Linked DNA regions of Homo sapiens: regions 1, 2, 4, 5 and 6 are each linked to region 3. Evidence: promoter capture Hi-C in human tissues and cell types (Jung and others, 2019). All regions are on one chromosome and are shown on one strand. Each heading gives the region's core, a stretch centred on a gene start or on the middle of the fragment in contact. The rest is flanking DNA. Distances are from core to core; before and after follow the strand shown.

Region 1 (2,797 bases), core at 50-2,549, 180 kb before region 3:
TCCGTCTCCAAAAAAAAAAAAAAAAAAAAAAAAAAAAGTTTGAGACCAGCCTGGCCAACATGGTAAAATCCCATCTCTACTAAAAATACAAAAATTAGCTAGGCATGGTGGCAGGTGCCTGTAGTCTCAGCTACTTGGAAGGCTGAGGCAGGAGAACTGTTTGAACCTGGGAGGCGGAGGTTGCAGTGAGCCGACATCACACCACTGCACTCCAGCCTGGGCGACAGAGTGAGACTCCGTCTGGGGGAGGAAAAAAAAGATCACAGATGTACCACCCAGTTTAAGAAAGGAAAAATTTTTTAAAAAATAAAACAAAAATAAAAGACCAGAAAAAACTCTTTCCCCTCTTTCTGGATGTGAGGACACAAGAAGGTAGCTGTCTCCAAGCCGAGAAGAGAGCCCTCACTAGACCCAGTTTAAGAAAGGAAAAAAATTTTTAAATAAAATAAAAATAAAAGAGACCAGAAAAAACTCTTTCCCCTCTTTCTGGATGTGAGGACACAAGAAGGTAGCTGTCTCCAAGCCGAGAAGAGAGCCCTCACTAGAACCCAAACATGTGGGTGCCCGATCTTGAACTTCAAGCCTCCAGAACTATGAGAAATAAGTTTCTGTTTTTATAAGCCACCCAGAGTCTGTGGTACATGCTATAGCAGCCTGAACTAAGACACCTAGCTAGGGCTAAAGTGACTGATCTCTTGAAGTTTCCCAGAATAAGTGCGGAGGCAGCCCTTGACCTATTGGCAGAGGCCTTGCACTGGTCCCTTCTGTGTTTCAGTGAATCTTTAATACTTTTTTTTTTTTTGAGATGGAGTTTTGCTCTTGTTGACCAGGCTGGAGTGCAATGGCATGATCTTGACTCACCACAAACTCCGCCTCCCAGGTTCAAGCAATTCTCCTGCCTGAGCCTCCCGAATAGCTGGGATTACAGGCGCGCATCAACAAACCCAGCTAATTTTATATTTTTAGTAGAGACAGGGTTTCTCCATGTTGGTCAGGCTGGTCTCGAGCTCCTGACCTCAGGTAATCCACCGGCCTCAGCCGCCCAAAGTGCTGGGATTACAGACATGAGCCACCACACCTGGCCCTGAATCTTTAAATACTTTTGTTGCAAAATTTTCCTTTATTGTTTTCTTGGACTACATACTCATGACTACTATTATTTTTTACTATCATTAGTTTCTAACAACTAAATATCTTAAAATGTTCTTAAAGTTTTTCAGTGGGTGAATTATTATTAATTAATTTGTTTATTTATGACAGAGTCTTACTCTGTTGTCCAGGCTAGAGTGCAGTGGTGCAAACATAGCTCATCACAGCCTCGAACTCCCAGGCTCAACCAAGTCTCACACTTCAGCCTCCTGAGTAGCTGGGACTATAGGTGCATGCCATCATGCCTGGCTGGAACATTCAATTAATTAATTTATTTATTTATTCTGAGACAGAGTCTCGCTTTGTCATCCAGGCTGCCGTGCAGTGGCACAATCTTGGCTCAGTGCAACCTCCATCTCCCAGGTTCAAGCGATTCTTATGCCTCAGCCTCCCAACTATCTGGGATTACAGGCACCCTCCACCACGCCTGGCCTAATTCTTATATTTTTAGTAGAGACGAGGTTTCACCGTGTTGGCCAGGCTGGTCTCTAACTCCTGGCCTCATGTGATCTGTCCACCTTGGCCTCCCAAAGTGCTGGGATTACAGGTGTGAGTTACTGTGCCCAGCCTGAAACATTCATTTTAAAAGAGACTTTTGTATTAAGCTTATAGTCATTAGGATATGTAAACATATTACTGATTAAAATTTTTAGTTTAACTGGTTTAACAGCATGTTTTAGGCAAAAAAATAAGAAGGAGGAGCAAGAAGAAGGAAAAAGAAAAAGTGGAAGAACAAGAGGAAGAATTAAGTGAAAGGAAGAACTCATCTCCCAGTCCTCCCTATTGATAGCTGTGCCTCCCCAGAGGGTGGCCCGCCATCAGCTGCATCAGATTTGCTGGGGATACTTAAAAATATAAGTAACTGAGGCCAGGCTCAGCGGTTCACACCTGTAATCCCAGCACTTTGAAAGGCCAAGGTAGGAGGATCTTGGAAGGCCAGGCTGAGCAACACAGTGAGACCTCATCTCTACTAAAATTCAAAAAAATTAGCCAGGCATGGTGGCACATGCCTGTAGTCCCAGCTACTTGTGGGGCTGAGGTGGGAGGATTACTTGAGCCCAGGAAGTTGAGGCTGTAGTGAGCCCTGATCATGCCACTGTACTCCAGCCTGGGTGACACAGTGAGACCTTATCTTTAAGGTGGAGGTGGGGAGGAAAGTAGGTAACTGATCCCATCTACACAATCGGCATCTGTGAGTGGAATCCAAGGATCTGTGATCAAGTTACCCTAGTAATTCTGAGAAGCACTAAAGTTTGAGAACTACCTTTCAGGAAAGTGACTAATTAGCTCATGAAAGTGACACCAAACCCTACTGTCTACTTGGAGCAGCTCACACCACCCTAAACCGAGGCAAATATCCTAGGAGCTGGCACAAAGCTTCCCAGATTCGAAACCTCCCCAATCTAAACCTGTTAAGGAAAGCAGAGCATCTCGATTGCACAGAAATTGATACAACAATACTTTCCAAAGTTAAATTATTGAGAAGTATCCATTGGAATAGCGTTTCACCTTGACCGTTATTGATCATCATGATAATATTAGCTCACATTTACCGAGTGCTTACTGTATGTCAAACATTGGGTTAATTGCTTTACATTTATTCATCTCATTTCATCCTTAGAGCAAAACTCTGTAGTAGGTGCTATTC
Region 2 (2,700 bases), core at 187-2,686, 200 kb before region 3:
TTTACTTTGCCCAGATTCATCAGAGGTATCACTATCTGTGGCAGCTATAGCTTTATGAAATATATTTATTAAATAATAAGACTTGAAAGTCAGAATTCCTTCTTGATCTATGGTCTGCAGAATGGATGTTTTGTTAACAGACATTAAATTATCAAGATCTTAGGTGACTAGGTGCATTGTCAGTGAGCAGTAATGTTTTAGATGAAGTCCTTTTTTTCAGCAGTAGGTCTCAAAAAATGGGGTTAAAAAATTAACCATGCCATAAAAAGATAATTCTGTCATAAGCATTGTTCCATTTATAAAGTACAGGCAGAGTAGATTTAGCATAATTCTTAAGGGCCCTCGAATTTTGAGAACAGTCAATGAGCATTGGCTTCACCAGCTGCATTAGTCCCTAACAAGAAAGTCAGCCTATTCTTTGAAACCAAGCATTGACTTGTAACTATAAAGTCCTAGTTGGCTTCTTCTTCCAATAGAAGACGATTTTATCGACATGAAAATCTGTTTAGTGTAACTACCATCAGTGATTTTAGCTAAATCTGTATAACTTGCTGTAGTGTCTCCATTAGCACTTGCTGCTTCACCTTGCACTTGCCTTCACAGAGAGGTAGGCTCTTGCTCTAGATTAGGTTTTGGCTTAAGGGAATGTTGTGGATAGTTTGATCTATCCAGACCAAACTTTCTCCACATTAGCAATAAGGCTGTTGTGCTTTCTTATCATTCGTGCATTTTACTAAAGTAGTCCCTTCAAGAACTCTCCCTGTGCATTCACAACTTGGCTGTTTGGCATAAGAGGCCTAGCTTTGAGCCTGTAACTTTCAACATACCCTCCTCACTAAGCTTAATCATTTCTAGCTTTTGATTTAAAATGAGAAATGTGCGAGTCTTCCTTTCACTTGAACATTTACAGGCTATTGTAGGGTTATTTGGCCTAAGTTCAATATTACTGAGTCTCAGGGGATAGGAAGGCCTAAGGAAAAGGAGAGAGAAGGGGGATCATCCAGTAGGCAGAGCAGTCAGAACACACATGTATTAAGTTTGCCTTCTTACATGAGTGTGGTTAGTGGCACTCTCAAAACAATTGCAATAGTAATGTCAAAGGTCACCAATCACCATAACAGATTACCAAAATATAACACAGAGACAAAGTGAGCACATGCTGTTTGTAACAGTGCAATATATGGAAGCACAATAAAATAGGGCAGGCCTGTAATTACATGATGGCGGAAAGCTTGCTGCATTCTTTAATCTTTATCATGAGAATCAAAGATTCCCCCTATAAAGAAATAAAATTAGAGATAGGGAATGTAAGGGGGAAAATTGGTTTATTCCCTGCTTCTTGGTGATTATGTGTAATACTCACTCTAATTTAAGCATTTTATGAATAAGCAATTTTCATCAAACTATGGAGGCTGTAAGTTACATAGGCAAATTTGGATTTGAACTTGATGGCTATTCTAGTAGTTTTGAAATGATATCATCCCAGGTTCTTGCCTTAGCTACAAAATTTCAGTCCAAGTTTAGCTACAAACCTCATGGGAGAATATCAAATGTAAGTTTAAAATTTAGTATTTATTCATATAAAGGTTTACAGACTTGATTTCAATGAAGAAAAGCCATCTTCCCCCCCACCATCTCCCTCTCACACCCCTTTGAAAGCTTAAATTATATTTTATAAAAGTACTTTATATATTGTTCCTCAAGGAAGAGATCAATATACAGTTACCTACCCCATTCCCATATATGCCTTTAAAAAAAAAATCACTTTACTAATTACCGAGTAGCATACAGAAGTAAAACCAAGTTTTAAAAAAATGCACCGCAGTTCTGAAGATAGAATTCATTTTTCTCATCTGGTAGACATAGCTTTGCAGGTCTTCATTTAATTTGCTGGAAGAAAGTTATTTAATAGATCAGTAATAGACTTTTTAAAAGTCTTGTCCATTCATACTGAGCTATCTGATATTTTAGTAATAGAAGATTCTTTAATAAAAAATTATTAGGAGGGAAAATCCTAGCATTTACCTTTGTGTATCTGAAGATACAATGCTAACTTTTTAATTCTAATATAATGCAGATGTCATTTAGAAAAATTCACGTTTTATACATATACATACATTATATATACATTTATATGTATACATATATACATACATACATATATATACACGTGTGTGTCTGTGTATATATATAACTTTTTTTTTTTTAGAGACAGGGTTTCACCATGTTGGCCATGCTGGTCTCAAACTCCTGACCTCAGGTGATCCACCTGCCTCAGCCTCCCAAAGTGCTAGGATTACAGACGTGAGCCACTGTACCTGGCCAATATTCTCCTTCTAGATAGTGTTTTAGATTTTTAGTTTACCAGACTTGTCGAATCAGAGTTTCTTAGAGTAGTTGTAACACAGAATCAACACCACTTTAAAACTATTGACCAGGTTGGTTCATCCAAATTATTAGGATGCTGTCTGTATGTGTTGTTGGAAGGAAGTTACTATTTTTGCCATGTTCTTATAAACATTTCTAGAAGCTGTATTGGTGTCAGTCAGGTGGTTTCATATGGTAACCACTCACAACACTGAAGTAGGGGGAGTGGGTGTGGGTGTGTATTTTAAGATTTTTCCCAAAGACATGTAGCCAGTTAGCCCAGACAATTGTATGTATTGAACCTACTTGTTTGTTTAAAAGGCTATAAACAAT
Region 3 (2,700 bases), core at 79-2,578:
TTCCCCTATACCTCTCAGGCAGAGTTCATCCCATCCTCCTTTTTATTCCCATCACAGTGGAAGGTACCCCTATTTGAGTCTTGCCAGGTTGCATCAAATTTCTTTCTTCCGGGTTTGGTTCCCTGCTGCACTGTGCTCTCAAGGGGAAGAGGCGTGTCTCAGTCATCTCAGTCTCCAGTGCCTAGGATGAGACCTTTTATATACATGTGGGTCTTCAATAAATGTTTTAGACGGAATGCAGAGCTCTAGTCAAGTTACTCCTCAGCTCAAAATCTCTACAGAACCTTCCCCTTTGCTTCCTGACTTTGTTTCAAATTCCTCTACCAGGCACGCAGAAGCTTAGCCCACAGCTCTCCTCTTGCCTCCCCACCTCACATGCCTTGGCTCACCTGCGCTTCTGGGTGCTGCTGGTACAGCCACCCTCTGACACTTCCTTACCTCTGGACCTTTGCTCATCTGTCCCTCTACCTATAATGCCATCTTCCCCTCTCCCCCTGTCAAAATTCTAGCCATCCTTCAAGGCCCAGGCCAAATGCCATTTTCTTTTTTTTTTTTTTTTTTTTTTTGGAGATGGAGTCTCCCTCTGTCGGCCAAGCTGGAATGCAGGGTCAGGAGCATCTCAGCTTACTGCAACCTCTGTCTTCCGGGTTCAAGCGATTTTCCTGCCTCAGCTTCCCAAGTGGCTGGGACTACAGGCATGCACCACCACACCTGGCTAATTTTTGTATTTTTATTAGAGATGGGGTTTCACCATTTTGGCCAGGCTGGTCTTGAACTCCTGACTTCAAGTGATCCACCTGCCTCAGCCTCCCAGAGTGCTGGGACTACAGGGTGAGCCCCCATGCCCAACCTCAAATGCCATTTTCTTCTTGAAGCATCCCATCAGCAGATGTGGCCTCCACTGTTGAAACCCACAGTGCTTTATCCTCCCAAGCCATTCCTCAAACACGGTTCTGGGGTTGAATGATGCGTGTTTGTAATTAACGCACTTCGACAGCAGGTATCTCCCAACTTCAGCATAGTGGGTGCTCAGTGAATATTGGCCCAAATGGAATTGAGCATCCATGCTACACCTGCAGATGGGAGAGGCAGCAAACTCATGTCCCAGGAACCAGCATGACACAGATCTCTCTTGTCCTCCCCTTGTTTCTCAATAAGGACAATATTTGCGCTCAGGGGAGAAGGGCACAGCTTGCCCCTCCCTTCCTTCCTCAGCCAACGGTTTGGCTTCCCTTCTAGAGAGGTGAGAGAAGGTGTGACAGGCCAAGTTTCCTTTGCTCCACCCCATGGTGTTTCCCCCAAACACCCAGCATAAGTTCACCTCTGGCAGAGTTGCTTTCCAGCTCCTGCAGGTGGGAGTCGACTCACCTGCAGCAGGCACTCGGCACAACTCCGCAGGACCGGCTCACCTGCACCGGGCACTCAGCACAGCCTCCAGCATGCAGCGCCTCCCCGCTGCCACCCGGGCCACCCTGATCCTCAGCCTGGCCTTTGCCTCCCTCCACTCGGCTTGCTCGGCAGGTAGCGTTATGAGCTTTATTCATGGCCAGGCTGGGAAGGGGGAGGGAAGGAGGGAAGAGAGGTGGGAGGGAAAGAAGGAGGAGGGGGAAGATTCTTTGGCCAGGGTTGGTCCTGCGCAAAGGAAGGAGGAAACAGAACTTTCTCATCTGAAGGATTAGGCAGGGGGTGGGAGGTGGGGCTGGGGCAGGGGGGGTCTTAGGTTGGCCTGAGACGGAGATCAGATACTCAATTCCTCAGCTAAGGCAGGAGCAGCCACCTCTCTTGGCCTTTGCCACAAAGAAAGGAAAAAGTTATTTGCTGGAGTCTCACCCATCAGGGGACCAAAATGATATCTCTTGGTCCGCTGTGTCCTGAAGGCTCCTTCTCAGCCCCACTGGGCTGTCGTGCTTTGCAATCCTCCCTGTGCACATTTGTGTCTGACCTTCCCTTTCCTAAGTCCTCCATCCCTCCCTGCCCCTTGTACTTTCTCTGCGACTTTCACAAAACCTGACTGCCAGGAGGGCTGCCATTCACTGTCTCCCACCCTCCTGCCTCCCCGGGCACTGGAAATGCTGGGTTATCTCCCCATTTTCCTGTGGAGGCTGGAAGGCTGATCTACATCCCCTGCCTTGCCCTGCCAGGCCGGGTTCTGCAACTCACGGCAGAGGGACCTTGGTTACCATCTTCTGCTCCTGGCTTTGATCTTGTTCTCAGCCACCTCAGAACACCACCACACTCTCTATGCCCTGCAACACTCCTGCTCCCAAAACCAACCCTGCCCCCAAAGTCCTGTGTCTGCCCCTCTCATCCTCAGACTCTCTTCTGTAGCCACTGCCAGGGGTGTTGGTGTTGAGGTTCAAGACGTGCACTCTTGAGCCGCTGAGCCTGAACCCAGGTCCAGCTTCCATGACTCACTAGCTATGCGACCTCGAGCAAATGACTTTACCTCTCTATGCCAAGTTTCCTCCTTTATCTCATGGGGACAATCATAGTGCTTGTCAAGACGAATTGATGTAATTTCATGTAAAGAACTTAGAAATAGCCCATAGAACACACACAGTGAATGTCAGCAATTATGGTAAGCACATTCATTTTATTTTCCAACTTCACCCCTCCCCAAATAAGAGTGCTGAGTTTCTTTCTACTTACCCCGACAGTGCCTTGCTTATGATGGGAGCTCAGAATCAGAAGACAAGTTTA
Region 4 (2,866 bases), core at 330-2,829, 130 kb after region 3:
TTTTTAGTGGAGACGGGGTTTCACAGTGTAAGCCAGGATGGTCTCAATCTCCTGACCTCGTGATCCGCCTGCCTCGGCCTCCCAAAGTGCTGGGATTATAGGCGTGAGCCACCACGCCCGGCCTACTATTGTCTTTTCAATCCTACTGCCCATTTTTCTTTTGGGTTGTCTGTCTTTTTCTTTCTGATTTAAAGGCATTCTTTTTTTCAGATGGAGTCTCACTCTGTTGCCCAGGCTGGAGTGCAGTGGTGCAATCTCAGCTCACTGCAACCTCTGCCTCCCAGGTTCAAGCAATTCTCCTGCCTCAGCCTCCCGAGTAGCTGAGACTATAGGCACGTGCCACCACGCCCAGCTAATTTTTGTATTTTTAATAGAGACAGTGTTTCACCATGTTGGCTAGGCTGGTCTCAAACTCCTGACCTCAGGTGATCCACCCGCCTCAGCCTCCCATAGTGCTGGGATTGTAGGCATGAGCCACCATGCCCAGCCTAAAGGCATTCTTGATGTATAAATACACCTTTGTTGCAGGTTTGGTCCTGGACAAACTTAATAAAGCAAATATCACAATAAAGCAAGTCACACAAATTTTTTTGTTTCCCAGTGCATATAAAAGTTATGTTTATACCATACTGTAGTCTATTAAGTACACAATAGCATTATGTCTTAAAAAAACAATGTACATCTCCTAATGCTATCCCTCTAATGTAAATGACAAGTTAATGGGCGCAGCACACCAACATGGCACATATATACATATGTAACAAACCTGCATGTTGTGCACATGTACCCTAGAACTTAAAGTATAATAAAAAATACATTAAAAAAAATGTACACATCTTAACTAAAAATACTTCATTGTTAAAAATGCTAACAATTGTCTAAGCCTTCAGCGAGTTGCAATCTTTTTGTTGGTGGTGTTTTATCTCAGTGTTGACGGCTGCTGGCTGATGAGGGTGGGTGGCTGATGAAGGTTAGGGTGGCTTTATCTTAGACAATGAAGTTTGCCTCATCAATTGATGCTTCATTTCATGAAAGACTTCTCTGTAGCCTGTGATGCTGTTTGATAGCATTTGGCCCACAGTAGAACTTCCTTCAAAATTGGAGTGAATCCTCTCAAACTCTGCCAACTGTTTTATCGACTAGGCTTATGGAATATTCTACATCCTTTGTTGTCATTTCAACAATATTCACAGCATCTTCACCAGCACTAGGTTCCATCTCAAGAAACCACTTTCTTTGCTCATCCATAAGAAGTGACTCCTCGTCTGTTTAAGTTTGACCATGAGTGCTGCAATTCGTCATGTCTTCTGGCTCTGCTTCTAATTCAGGTTCTTCATTCCATCTGCAGTGACTTCCTCCACTGAAGTCTTGAATGCCTCAAAGTCATTCATGAGGTTTCGCATCAACTTCTTCCAAACTTCTGTTAATGTTGATATTTTGGCTGTCTCTCATAAATCACGAATATTCTTTATGGCATCTAGAATGGTGAACCTTTTCCAGAATGTTCTTGACGTACTTTTCTCAGACCCATGAGAGAAATCGCTACCTATGGCAGCTATATAGCCTTATGAAATATATTTCTTTTATCTTTTTGTTTTGTTTTGTTTTTTAAGACAGTGCCTTGCTCTATTTCCCAAGCTGGAATACAATGGTACAATTATAGCTCACAGCACCCTTGAACTCCTGGGCTCAAGGAATCCCCCACAGCTCAACCTCCCAAACAGCTGGGACCATAGGCATGTGCCACTATGCCCAGCTATTTATTTTATCTTTCTTTTGTAGAGATAAGGTCTCACTATGTTGCCCAGGTTAGTCTCAAACTCCTGGCCTCAAGCAATCCTCCTGCCTCGGCCTCCCAAAGTGAGTCACCGCACCCAGCCATGAAATGTATTTCTTATATAGTAAGACTTGAAAGTCAAAATTACTCTTGATCCATGGGTTGCAGAATGGATGTGTGTTAACAGGCATGAAAGCAACTTTAATCTCCTTATCCATCTTGATAAGAGTTATTGGGTGACTAGGTCCATTGTCAATGAGCAGTAATAGTTTGAAAGGAATCTTTTGTTCTGAGCGGTAGGTCTCAAGAGTGGCCTTAAGTTAGTCAGTAAATCATGCTTTACACAGATGTGCTGTCATCTAGGCTGTGTTGTTTCACTTACAGAGTGCAAGCAGAGCCAACTTACCATAATTCTTAAGGGCCCCAGACTTTTCAGAATGGTCCATGAGCACTGGCTTCAACTTCAAGTCACTAGCTTCATTGGCCCCTAACAAGAGAGTCAGCCATCCTTTGAAGCTCTGAAGCCAAGCATTGACTTCTCTAGCTGTGAAAGTCCTAGATGACATCTTCTCCTAGAAGGCTGCTTCATCCACACTGAAAATCTGTTGTTTAGTCTAACTGCCTCCACCAGTGATCTTACCTAAATCCTCCGGATAATTTGCTGTTACACCTTGTACTTCTATGTACGGAGAAGCTTCTTTCCTTAAATCTCAAGAACCAACCTCTGTTAGCTTCAAACTTTTCTTCTGCAGCCTCCTTACCTTTTTCAGCCTTTAGAGGATCAAACAGAGTTAGAGCCTTGCTCTGGATTAGGCTTTGGCTTATGGGAATGTTGCAGCTGATTTAATCTATCCAGACCATTCAAGCTTTCTCCGTATCAGCAACAAGGCTGTTTTGCTTTCTTATTATTCATGTGTTCGTTGTGGTACTACTTTTAATTTCCTTCAAGAACTTTTCCTTTGCATTCACAACTTGGCAATCTATTTGTTGCAAGAGGTCAGCTTTCAGGCTCCCTTGGCTTTTGATGTGTCTTCCTCACGTAATCATTTCTAGCTTTTGACTGCAAGTGAGAGACATGCAACTCTTCCT
Region 5 (2,867 bases), core at 338-2,837, 170 kb after region 3:
TACTTCATCTCCTTATAATTGTACTGGATAGGGTTATCAGGATTACATGGCTTAATACAATTAATACATATCAACTTCCTAGAAGAATGCCTGACATAAGTGCACATTCGATTTTAGTTACCTATTATTATGTCTACTATCATCATCATTTATCCTAGTCTTCTCTGAGAGCTTTCTCAAGTAATTGTATCTTTTCTCTCCATTACCTTCAACCATTTTGTGCTTATGGTAGCTGCTAATCTCCAAAGACGACCACCATCAATGTCAATGTCTAGGCTATTTCACCACCCATCAGTGGGTAGCCCTATTTCCTCCTGCCCCTTGTGGACTAGTCTTGTGATTTTCTCTGACCAGCAGAATGCATCAGAGACAACTTTTGAGCTCCAGATCTTAAGAGGGCCGCTAGCTCCTGCTTCATTCCCCTTAGAAGCCAGCGGCCCCATATGAAGTCCTACTATAAGAAGTCCAAGCTGGTCACCTGGGAAGAGAGAGGGAGGGAATGTGGTGGGACATGAAGGTAGGAGGGGGTGAAACAGCCTCAGCCTTCCAGCCCAGCCCTGGAGCCAACCGAACACAGCCAAGTGAGTGACCCCAGCTGAGTTTCATGGAGCAGAATTATCCATCCGAGACCTGTCCGAATTCCTGACCCGCAGAATCATGAGAAATAATAAACCATTACTGTTTTCAACCATTCTGTTTCAGGGTGATTTGTTATGCAGCAATAGATAACCAAAATGAGGCTCCCCTTTAGCTTTAAAAGAATGTTCCATCTCATATCCATCTTCAAACATCCCCCACAGTTCTGCGGTCCTACATCCACCAACAGTTACTGCCCTCTTTGTATCACCACCGCAGTCCTCTACAATAGCACTTCACATGCCACTGGATAGTCACTTACGTACAGAACAACTTCCCCTTGTAGACGGAGTTGCTAGAGGGCTGTGACTGACTGCCGTATTTCTCTTAGTATCCCAACATCCAGCACGGTGCTCAGCACATGGCAGTGAGTGCTCCATCAATGTTGGCTGAGTCATGCAGACATGTGGGCATGGAACTACCACACAACTGGCCTGCCTGCAGGCATGCCTTCTGGCACTGGCAAACCCAAAACAAAGATGGAAGAATGAAAAACAGGACCCAGGCAAGCACACTTCCCAGAACCAGACAAGATGCAAAAGGTGCAGGAGAGAGATGAAGGGCAAGATCTGCTGGTGGGAGGCAGAAGTCACATGCGGAAAGCCACTGAGATTTGGAAACTTTCCACAGCACTGCTGGTTTACCCAGCCTGATAGGGTACACATTCTACAGGTATATCTTGTTTTCCTCTCGGGGAACTGAACACAATTGGAAGAGGGAGTAGAGGAACCTGAAGGCTGTCAATGAGTAAAGTCAATATAAACTACAACGAACAAAATAGAACAGTTGCAGGTTCAGGATTTCTGGGAAGTATTCAGAAGGTTAAACTTTATACCAGATCTAGGCAAGAACTCAAGGCATTAATACACTGTGTTTTATGAAGAACCAAAAAGGCTCAAGGGGCATATAAAACAAACGAAGTAGGACAGCCGGCTGTACCAGTTAGTTTTTGAACAAAGTACTCATTTTAAGGCATCGACTTCCTCCCACCAAAATTCCAAAGTAAATAAGAAATTGATTTTAAACCAGTGGTATACACTAACTTAATTAACGGAGGAGATGTATGACAACCACACACTTGGCTGTCAGAAACAAACAACAGAAAAACAGCATAGTCAACACAAAGCAAAAATGGTATCAAAACCACAAGGAAATGATCCAGGACGTGATAAAAGAGGAAATGCGGCAAGAAAATGTCACTCAGTATTAAGAAAAATATTATCCTCACTGGTGGAGAAAATGGAATATGGCTCATCATGGAATTTTAACTTTTTGAGTTTTTTTATTGTTAAAATGTTTAATTTGCCGAAATAAAGTAAAATGCACCACCACACAACACTGTAGGTTTTGAAAGCCTGCTTCATTCATTTCTCTTAACCTACGTTTGGTGAGCATCTTCTATGGGCTAGGCCAGGCTGTGACTTCACAGTCAGGGCTTCTAACAGGGACAGGGAGCTGGCCAGGGGCCACAGGTGGCTCTGACTGGGGCTCTGTCCACAGAGCTCACTCTGCCCTGCAAGCAAAGCCTGTGAGTGGGCACTTCAGTGGGAGAGACCACAGAGTCATTCTCTAACCCAGACCCAGAACAGAGGAGACCGTGGCTGGGGGTGCACATGCCCACCCCCAGGGTGGGAAAAACTCTTGCTAGCTGTGTGAGCAAGTCAATGAACTTCTCTAAGCTTTATTTTCCTCATCTGTAAAATGGGGATCCTTACAGTACCTACCTCATGCAATTGTTGCACGGATTAAACAAGAGACACTGTGCCGTCTCCTCACACAATGTTTGGCACACAGCATGCACTCTATAATTGTTGGGTATTATTATTATTCCCAGCTCAGCCCCTGAGACTGCTGCAGGAGAGGACCAGAGAAAGAAGTGCAAAGAGAACCTTATTCAAAGGCCCAAATGCCAATGAACAATCAGAGAAATGCACCTTTAATGGAGATATTTTTTACCTATGAGTTGGGCAAAGACAATAAAGACTGGTCACAGCCTGTATTATGGAGGAGAGAAGCAAGCTGGCACTCTGGTGCATTGCTAGAGAGAATGTGGATTGCTTCAGCCTTTCTAGAGAGCGATTTGGCAATATGCATCAAAATTTAATATGTGCATACTGCCTAGTCCAGCAAGTCTATTTCTGAGAATTTATCTTAAGAAAGTAATTGGAAAAGTGTGTAAAGATGTATACACAACGATGCTCATAGCAGTGTTTTTTTTCTTTGTTTTTTTT
Region 6 (2,859 bases), core at 120-2,619, 230 kb after region 3:
GTGGCTCATGCCTGTAACCTCAGCTACTTGGGAGGCTGAGGCAGGAGAACCACTTGAACCCAGGAGGCGGAGGTTATGGTGAGATGAGATCGCGCCATTGCACTCCGGCCTGGGCAACAAGAGTGAAACTCTGTCTCCAAAAAAAAAAAAAAGAGTAGACAGAGTGAGGTAGAAGTCTCTGGAGAGAACCCAAAGGTTATATACTCTGTACTACTGGCTGAGGATGGACCTACAAAAATTGAATATCATCCAAGCACAGTATTGCTGAGGTCCTTTCATGAAAATTTGAGGCCTCGTTAAAGGCTGTCCCACATCAGCATAGATGAGGGCCCCATTAATAAAAGGCCAAATATAAAATGAAAAAATAAGAACAATCAGAAAGCAGACACCAGAAAACTATTCACTCATACATATATTTTTAAAAATGCAAATGACAGTATCCTTTAGCATCTATAAGCTAAGCAAAAGTAAAAAATAGCTGGAAAAATTCAATATTCTGCAGATTTTAAGACAGGAGTTATATTCAAAATTTGTTAAGAGGCTGGGTGCAGTGGCTCATGCCTGTAATCCTAGCACTCTGGGAGGCTGAAGCAGGCAGATCGCTTGAGCCCAGGAGTTCAAGACTAGCCTGGGCAACATGGCAAAATACCCTCTCTACAAAAAAAAAATACAAAAAATTAGCTGGTCGTGGTGCATACCTGTAGTCCCAGCTACTCAGGAGGCTGAGGTGGGATGATCACTTGAGCCCAGGAAGTCAAGGCTGCAGTGAGCCGAGATCACGTCACTGCACTCCAGCCTGGGCAACAGAGCAAGACCATCTCAAAAAAAAAAACTGTTAGAAAAAGCCAAGTAGTTAAACAAACTATGATAATATTAATGTATCTGTGCAAAAACATGATTATGTACGATGTGAACAAATATAGAAAGATGCTTATGAGACAATATTAAGTGAAAAAAAAAAATGAGTGCAAAGTACTCTAGGATTGCCACAATATAAATTGATAGAAAAACAATGGTGGACCACAGAAGTCAGCAGAGCTCCATCTACCCAGCCTGAGGAAAGCACCTAGGAGCTGCAGATAGCAGCTGCCATCTTCAGCACTTGCCCTGGACTAGCCCCATCTGCACTCAATTTTAGCCTCTCTTTGCCTGTTCAATGTCCCACCCCATCCCCAACCACCCATGCCCAAATGTATTCTTCCAAAAGGACATTTTCTCCTTTTCCATCTTCTTTACTTCTCGCAAGACACTGTGAGGTAGATATTATTATGACCATTACAAATCTATCATTAAATGAATGAATGGTTACAAATTAAAGCTAAACAGAAGGCTTGTTTTCAGATCTTCCAAGCTGGACAAGCTTCTTCTTAGTTCACTGACCCCCTTTAAGGTTTACCTGGGCAGGGCTTCTTGGCCGACTGAGCAGGGACAGAAGCCAGAGGACCAGCTTCTGCAGCTCCAGCTGCGTGCACTCCTTGCTTCTCAAGGCCTTGTGAATGCTCAGTCGAAGGTGATGAATTATCTACAAAGAGGAAAGGGATAAGTTTTCCTACGATACCCCAAGTTTCATTTTACGTTGGGAGCAACAGCCCAGCTAACCAGCCATCAGACAAGACTCCCAACACATGGATTTGGAGAGTTCATGTCTTCTGGATTTTAAAAAATTGTATGTGTGTGTGTATAAAAAATAGAGAGAGAGAGAGCAAGCGGAAAGTCACTATGTCACAGGAGAGACTCACCAAACGAAACCAGATGAAGACAATGACAGGCCCTAGACACAGCATAGGGTAGAAGGTACCTGCCACCATTCACAGTTCCCTAAACAGCCCGACACTGGTATATGCAGAGCCCTCCCTGTCTGCACTCACTACGTCTGACACTAACATCCCAACACATGAAAACTCGATGGTGAAAGCTTAGCAACTCCGCCTTTGGTGATTTACCTTTCCCAACAGCAATTCTCCTAAGCCTACCACCCACTGATTTCTAGGTACCAGCAAATGTAACAGAATAAGTAACTGAATGCATTAGAATTAAAAGAACACCAAACCACACTTTGTAGACTAAAAAACTACTAAAGGCCAGGTGCAGTGGCTCACGCCTGTCATCCCAACACTTTGGGAGGCCAGGGCTGGAGGACTGCTTGAGCCCAGGAGTTCAAAACCAGCCTGGTCAACATAGCAAAACCTTGTCCCTACAAAAGAAAAATTTTAAAAAATAGCTGGACATGGTGGCATGTGCCTGCAGTCCCAGCTACCAGGGAGGCTGAGCAGAAAGATCACTTGAGCCCAGGAGTTCGAGGCTGCAGTGAGTCATGACTGTGCCACTGTACTCCAGCCTAGGCAACAGAGCAAGATCCTGTCTTCAAAAACAACAATAAAAATTACTGAAAGACTATGGGAATATATTTATAATGGGAATATGCAATATTCCTAGCAATATGGGAAAATATGATGTTGTATAAAGTAGAAATTTAAGATATTAAATTAACATATACTTTGAGCACAATTGGATTCGTGTTTGTATATAACAGAACTGAAGGGCCTATAATAAAATTGTAACAAGTATAGTAGATTAGAGTGAGCAAAATCATATACAATTTTCATTTCCAGTTGCTATTTTCCAAATTGTTCTGTAATGTCATTAAAATTACTTAAAAATTAACAAAGCCAAAAATTATATTTATGACAAGAAAGCCATCCCTACATTAATCTTACTTTTCCACTCACCGGCCCATCTCCTTCCTCTTTTTCCTAACTATGCCATTAAAACTGTTCTACTAGGCCGGGCGTGTGGCTCATGCCTGAAATCCCAGCACTTTGGGAGGCCAAGGCAGGCAGATCATGAGGTCAAGAGATT

The links. The method cuts DNA at HindIII sites, captures the fragments that hold promoters and counts their contacts. A contact is called where the count stands out against the background at its distance.
Region 1: a contact is called between a fragment that was not itself captured here and the fragment with the promoter of TMEM213 in region 3, in 1 of the 25 tissues and cell types used here (pancreas).
Region 2: a contact is called between a fragment that was not itself captured here and the fragment with the promoter of TMEM213 in region 3, in 2 of the 25 tissues and cell types used here (H1 embryonic stem cells and mesendoderm cells).
Region 4: a fragment that was not itself captured here is called in contact with the fragment with the promoter of TMEM213 in region 3 in 2 of the 25 tissues and cell types used here (H1 embryonic stem cells and psoas muscle).
Region 5: a fragment that was not itself captured here is called in contact with the fragment with the promoter of TMEM213 in region 3 in 2 of the 25 tissues and cell types used here (H1 embryonic stem cells and liver).
Region 6: a contact is called between a fragment that was not itself captured here and the fragment with the promoter of TMEM213 in region 3, in 1 of the 25 tissues and cell types used here (H1 embryonic stem cells).

The regions. Positions count from the first base shown.
Region 1 is chr7:138,615,552-138,618,348 of GRCh38, forward strand. The region is part of intron 14 of SVOPL (SVOP like); the gene reads right to left. Among named protein-coding and RNA genes, the nearest start is that of SVOPL, 84 kb to the right of the region's middle. The HindIII fragment of the contact is 3,439 bases long and covers 1-2,797 here.
Region 2 is chr7:138,592,732-138,595,431 of GRCh38, forward strand. SVOPL (SVOP like) reads right to left here. Exons shown (of 16, transcript NM_001139456.2): 16 at 1,554-1,890. The coding sequence ends at 1,879. Among named protein-coding and RNA genes, the nearest start is that of SVOPL, 110 kb to the right of the region's middle. The HindIII fragment of the contact is 4,048 bases long and covers 1-2,700 here.
Region 3 is chr7:138,796,666-138,799,365 of GRCh38, forward strand. It overlaps TMEM213 (transmembrane protein 213), which reads left to right and starts at 1,329. Exons shown (of 3, transcript NM_001085429.2): 1 at 1,329-1,521. The coding sequence starts at 1,440. ATP6V0A4 (ATPase H+ transporting V0 subunit a4) reads right to left here and starts at 1,531. Exons shown (of 22, transcript NM_020632.3): 1 at 1,369-1,531. RefSeq lists a silencer at 1,299-1,593. The HindIII fragment of the contact is 6,104 bases long and covers 1-2,700 here.
Region 4 is chr7:138,928,098-138,930,963 of GRCh38, forward strand. All of the region lies in intron 1 of KIAA1549, which reads right to left. Among named protein-coding and RNA genes, the nearest start is that of KIAA1549, 52 kb to the right of the region's middle. The HindIII fragment of the contact is 3,450 bases long and covers 1-2,866 here.
Region 5 is chr7:138,962,099-138,964,965 of GRCh38, forward strand. All of the region lies in intron 1 of KIAA1549, which reads right to left. Among named protein-coding and RNA genes, the nearest start is that of KIAA1549, 18 kb to the right of the region's middle. The HindIII fragment of the contact is 7,609 bases long and covers 1-2,867 here.
Region 6 is chr7:139,025,312-139,028,170 of GRCh38, forward strand. ZC3HAV1L (ZC3HAV1 like) reads right to left here. Exons shown (of 5, transcript NM_080660.4): 4 at 1,397-1,522; 5 at 395-1,249. The coding sequence ends at 1,233. Among named protein-coding and RNA genes, the nearest start is that of ZC3HAV1L, 9.3 kb to the right of the region's middle. The HindIII fragment of the contact is 4,981 bases long and covers 1-2,859 here.